Regions from separate parts of the Homo sapiens genome. Here region 1 is linked to region 2. Evidence: promoter capture Hi-C in 16 types of primary human blood cells and fetal thymus (Javierre and others, 2016). All regions are on one chromosome and are shown on one strand. Each heading gives the region's core, a stretch centred on a gene start or on the middle of the fragment in contact. The rest is flanking DNA. Distances are from core to core; before and after follow the strand shown. Region 1 overlaps KPTN (kaptin, actin binding protein). Region 2 holds the start of SULT2A1 (sulfotransferase family 2A member 1).

Region 1 (2,700 bases), core at 152-2,651, 410 kb before region 2:
GTTGCTGAGCTCCTAACTCCCATAAACGCTCGGTAGAGAACTGGTGGCTGGGTCTTCCCTGTCAGTGCTGGTGGTCAGACTTCTGAGTGGACCTCCATAGCGGGAGGTAGACAGATGGCCAAAATGACTACGGTGTCTGCCTCTCCCCTGAACCCCCAGGAAGCAGATGTCCTGCCCAACCCCTGCCCCCAGCCTGGATACGGCCCAGGGAATGATCATCCCCCAACCCTGCTGACCCAGATTCTATTCCTGGCCTGCAGTGGACGGAGGACAAGACTTCCATCGTTCCCACCCTCCACTGATCCTAGAGACACAGGCCTCTGATTCCTTCTCCTGGTAATACAGAACGGAGCACAGGAGGCCGGGCTCAGTGACTCACGCCTGTCATCCCAGCACTTTGGGAGGCCGAGGCGGGCAGATCACCTGAGGTCAGGAGTTTGAGACCAGCCTGGCCAACACGGTGAAACCCTGTCTCTACTAAAAATACAAAAAAATTAGCCAGGCGTGGTGGCGTACGCTTGTAATCCCAGCTACTCAGGAGGCCGAGGCAGGAGAATCGCTTGAACCAGGAGGTGGAGGTTGCAGTGAGCCGAGATCGCGCCACTGCACTCCAACCAGTGCATCAGAATGAGACTCCGTCTCTCACACACACACAAAAGACCACAGGCAAGGCAACTCCTACCACCACAGGCTGGGAGAATCAGGCTTGTCTCCCACTCCCTGGGCCCCCAACCCCCTAGGCTTTTTAGATTAGGTCTAAGCTTAGCCCTTTCCAGCATGGTCTAGCCTGGGTCTTCTCCCTGGGTCTTGCCTCAGTGCTCTCCACTGGGAACTAAGCTCACTTTCTGCTGGGGTTTAACCCTGGCCCCTTGCACAGGATCTGGCCATAGCAATTTTTTGTTGGGGTCCAACCTCAGCATTATTCATAGGGAGTCTAGCCTCAGACCCTCTGCTACAAATGGACCACTGCTTTCCCACAGCAGCCCTTTCTACCCACAAGTTTTCCTCTAAACGCTCAAGCTCCTTACCTTTCCACTGGGATCTACCCTTAGATCTAGATCTTTCCACTGGGGTCTCATGTCAGCTCTCTCCACTAGGGTCTAACCTCAGCTCTTTCCCTTCCATTTTACGTAATCTGTTCCACAGTGGTTTAACTTTTAGCCTTTCTGCTAAGGTGTCACCCCATTTCTTTCTCTTGGGTTCTACCCTGGGATCTAACCTCCGGCCTGTATCTGGGTCTAGCCTTGGATTCCCTCTCCCCCAAATCCCTCTCCCTCAATTCCTCTGGGTGAATCCAGCATCCAACACAGAGCCAGGCATACAGCAGGTGCTCACCAAATGCTTGCCGAAAAAAAGAATCGAGACAACTGGGAAATGATGTTCTTCTGGACGTATAAATAACCATCAGGTGGCCAATTCTCATCCAGAGTGGACAGGGTGGAATGGGATCATCCCTGCTTTCAAATAGGGACATTGACGTACAGAGAGAGGAGTGGGTTAGCTGGGGCCCCAGGGCACAGCTTCACCACCCTGGGGAGGTCTGGGGAGAGCATCCTGTCCTTCAGGACACCCCCCACCAGCGGCTGGAGGTGAGCACGCCATGAGTCGCCCCAGGTCTGGGAAGAGTGGGTGCATGGGTGCTTAAGAGGCTGCATTCTCAGCAGGCCCTGCACCTGCCCCGTCCTCCAACCCCTGTAGCCGACGTCTCCTCTGCTCCACTTGATGTCGAAGCCGGGTCAAGACCAGCTCTGAGGCCTGAATCAGGCTGTGCTGTGGGGAACAAGAGAATGAGGGGGATGGAGCTGAGGAAGAGCTGTGGGACCACAGCGGGACCGTCTGGAGTGAAGCAACTCCAAAGGCCAGGAGCTCGGCCCACGTGGGAGGGCAGAGAGCAGACCACAGTGTGTGGGATGGGAATGGGCCTCTGTGACAGGGGTGAAGGGGAGTGGCCTTAAGCGAATTTCTAGTGGGAGGGACAAAGCCTAGACCCAAATGTAAGGAAGTGAGATTAGAAGGAATATAAAAGGAATATAAAATTTAGCCAAGCTTGGTGGCAGGTGCCTGTCATCCCAGCTACTAGGGAGGCTGAGGCAGGACAATCACTTGAACCTGGAAGGTGGAGGTTGCAGTGAACTGAGATCACACCACTGCACACCAGCCTGGGAAACTGCACTCCAGCCTGGGAAACAGAGCAAGACTCTGTCTCGAAAACAAACAAACAAACAAAAAAACCAAAAAAAAAAAAAAAAAGGCCAGGGTGTGGTGGCTCACACCTGTAATCCTAGCACTTTGGGAGGCCGAGGTGGGCGGATGACTTGAGGCCAGAAGTTTGAGACTAACCTGGGCAACATGGTGAAACTCCGTCTCTACTAAAAATACAAAAATTAGCTGGGCGTGGTGGCGTGCGGCTGTATTTCCCAGCTGCTTGAGAGGCTGAGGCATGAGAATTGTTTGAACCTGGGAGGTGGAGGTTGCAGTGAGCTGAGATCGAGTCACTGCGCTAGAGCCTGGGTGACAGAGCAAGACTCTGTCTCAAAAATAAAATAATAAATAAATAAATAAATCTCCTTCACCAGGCCGGTGCCCCCACCCCAGCTGCTGTGAGCGCTCACAGCTGCCCCTTTCTCCTGGGAGTTGTCCTGACTGGTAGGAACTGCCTCCCTGAAATGAGTTCCTCCCTCCCCCAGGAGGAGGCCTGCA
Region 2 (2,700 bases), core at 34-2,533:
AACTCCTGACCTCAGGCAATCCACCTGCCTTGACCTCCCAAAGTGCTGGGATTACAGGTATGAGCCACCATGCCCAGCCTGTCAACCACTTTTAAGCCTACGGTTTCGTAGTGTTAAGTGTTAAGTATATTCCCAGTGCTGCTCAACCAATCTCCAGAGGATTTTTGTGTTGCAAAACCGAAACTCTATGCAGAGCCAGCACCGACTCCCCATTTACCCTTCTCTTCAGCCCCTGGCAGCCGCCAGTGTACTTTCTGTTTCTATGGACTTGATGACTCCAGGTACCTTATGTAAGTGGAATCACACACTATTTGTATTTTTGTGACTGGCTTATTTCATTTAGCATAATGTCCTTGATGTTTATCTCTGTTGTATCATGCATCAGAATTTTCTTCCTTCTCAAGGATGAATAACATTCCATTATAGCTATATACCACATTTTGTTTATTCACTCACCTGTCAGTGGATATCTGGGTTGCTTCCATCTTTTGGCTATTTGCTGAAATCCCTCTTATTATGTTCCCATTGCTCTTGGCCTCTCAGGGCCATGCCACTTCCAATGTCTTCAGCCTCAATCCTCACCGCATCCGCAGTGCTCTTACCGCCCTCCACCCACAGCCCCACTCCCAGAGACATATGATCCTCATCTTTCAGCCCCTTGAGATTGCCTGGCTCTTTTGTGGTTCCTGGCCATTGCCCTGATGATTCTCCTATCTGAAAATAGCCCTCCCCCCAAGTAATTTCATACTCATTCTTTGCATTTCCATTTAAATGCTATTTCTTCTTTCAGGACATCATTGGTCATCCTCAGCCATCCTCCCTCCCACTGCCACCAAACAAACACCTGAATTTGCCTTGGGATTCACTCCTGTGGATTCTCCTAATACCTTAGATTACCCCTCTGAACACTCATCCTACTGTGTAATTTCCTGACTAAATCCTTTTCTCTGATTGTCAATGGTATTAGGCATTCCTCTCTTCCCCTTAAAGCATTGTACACTGTCTGACATAAAGGAAGAACTCCAATCATGCACTGAATGGACAGGAACACAACCACAGCCTTTCTCAGTTCACGATTCTGCCTCCTTACCTGATTTGGGGTAAGTCAATATTATTACATCTTCATCCCTTATCACGAACTCATCACGTACTTTTCTTAAGGTTTCGGATCTGAAACCCATAGTAGGGAAAGCTATGCCTTCAAACCATAAGAAATCGTCCGACATGATGATGACCTCTTCCTGCGTGGTGTGAGGGTTTCAACTGTAGCCACCGCTGGAGGCTGTGGCAGCTACAGGCAGATCAGCTTTTACAGCAAGGATAAAACGATCTTTAACCTTGTCCCAGCATGTCACATGTTTGTTGTAAAGTTTACTTGCTGATAAAGAGAGGTATAATGTGACCCATACTCAAAAGATTGAAGATGTTGAGCAATCATGAACTTATCTAGAGACCATTTTAGGGGTCATCTGAGCTTGCGTTCCTGAGAGTGAACTGCAAGATCGAATAACAAACACGAGGACAAATATTTTTTTTGATAATATGGGTGAATTTATTTCTTAAGGTTTGAGTGCAAACTTAAAAACAAGAACAAAGCTTTTCATCAAGCATAAACACAAAATCTAAATAATCCTGCAATCGTGCATTTTAACAGAAAGTACAAATATGAATACATTATAATTTGTAACTGCATTTAAAAATTAAAATATGTCTCTCCAAATCCAAAAGACCACACAGTCTTTATCTGTTCTCATCTTGTTACCTTAGAAACATTTGTCATATGCTCTCAGGAAAATATAGGCAAGAATTACTAATCAGTTATTCACGATCAAAGAAACATTATTCTCCCTGAGACTTTTTGAATCATTTATCTGTATTTCTGAAGTATCACACAATTATACCTCCACTCTAGAGAAAAAAAGAGTAAGTACAAATATTAGCAGTGTATATATTGTAGTAAATTTTTAAAGTACAACTTTAGTTGATGGCTGACGTGTATGTAATAATTGTGAACAATTTAAACGGTATAAAAATGTGAGATGAAAATCTTTAGACTCAAATACTTGAAAAGTCACTATGAATATGGAAAGATTTGTTTGCATAAACATGTATGTTTTTAGATGGAAAATCAAGAGGTAGTGGCATCTCCCTGTTTCCTTAATAATATTTGGATTTTCACAAAGAATTGGCAGCACCCAACCTTAAGTGTTAATTATGTGTTTGTTTGTTTTTTTTTTTTTTTTGAGATGGAGTCTCACTCTGTCGTCCAGGCTGGAGTGTAGTGGCGCGATCTCGGCTTGCTGCAAGCTCTGCCTACTGGGTTCATGCCATTCTCCTGCCTCAGCCTCCAGAGTAGCTGGGACTACAGGTGCCCGCCACCACGCCCAGCTAATTTTTTGTATTTTTAGTAGAGACGGGGTTTCACCGTGTTAGCCAGGATGGTTTCAATCTCCTGACCTTGTGATCCGCCACGCCCAGCCTAATTATGTGTTTCTAAAGGACCTATACAACAGATCAGTTGGCAGTGTTCTAGCTTTAGGGAGATGGGGGTGGATTGGGGGTGCAAATATCTGAGATAAGATAATGCATGCACTCACACATTTAAAATCACCATTCTAAATGGGAAAAAAAAATCACATATTGGGAAAGTCCAAGAAACTCATTCTTAAGGGATAAACAGCAGGGCAGGAGCAAAAGCTG

The links. The method cuts DNA at HindIII sites, captures the fragments that hold promoters and counts their contacts. A CHiCAGO score of 5 or more calls a contact.
Region 1: a fragment that was not itself captured here is called in contact with the fragment with the promoter of SULT2A1 in region 2 in 1 of 17 cell types (endothelial precursors); the score reaches 6.6 in endothelial precursors.

The regions. Positions count from the first base shown.
Region 1 is chr19:47,473,775-47,476,474 of GRCh38, forward strand. KPTN (kaptin, actin binding protein) reads right to left here. Exons shown (of 12, transcript NM_007059.4): 12 at 1,376-1,770. The coding sequence ends at 1,642. Among named protein-coding and RNA genes, the nearest start is that of SLC8A2, 3.2 kb to the left of the region's middle. The HindIII fragment of the contact is 1,285 bases long and covers 760-2,044 here.
Region 2 is chr19:47,885,032-47,887,731 of GRCh38, forward strand. It overlaps SULT2A1 (sulfotransferase family 2A member 1), which reads right to left and starts at 1,284. Exons shown (of 6, transcript NM_003167.4): 1 at 1,091-1,284. The coding sequence starts at 1,226. The HindIII fragment of the contact is 7,780 bases long and covers 1-1,594 here.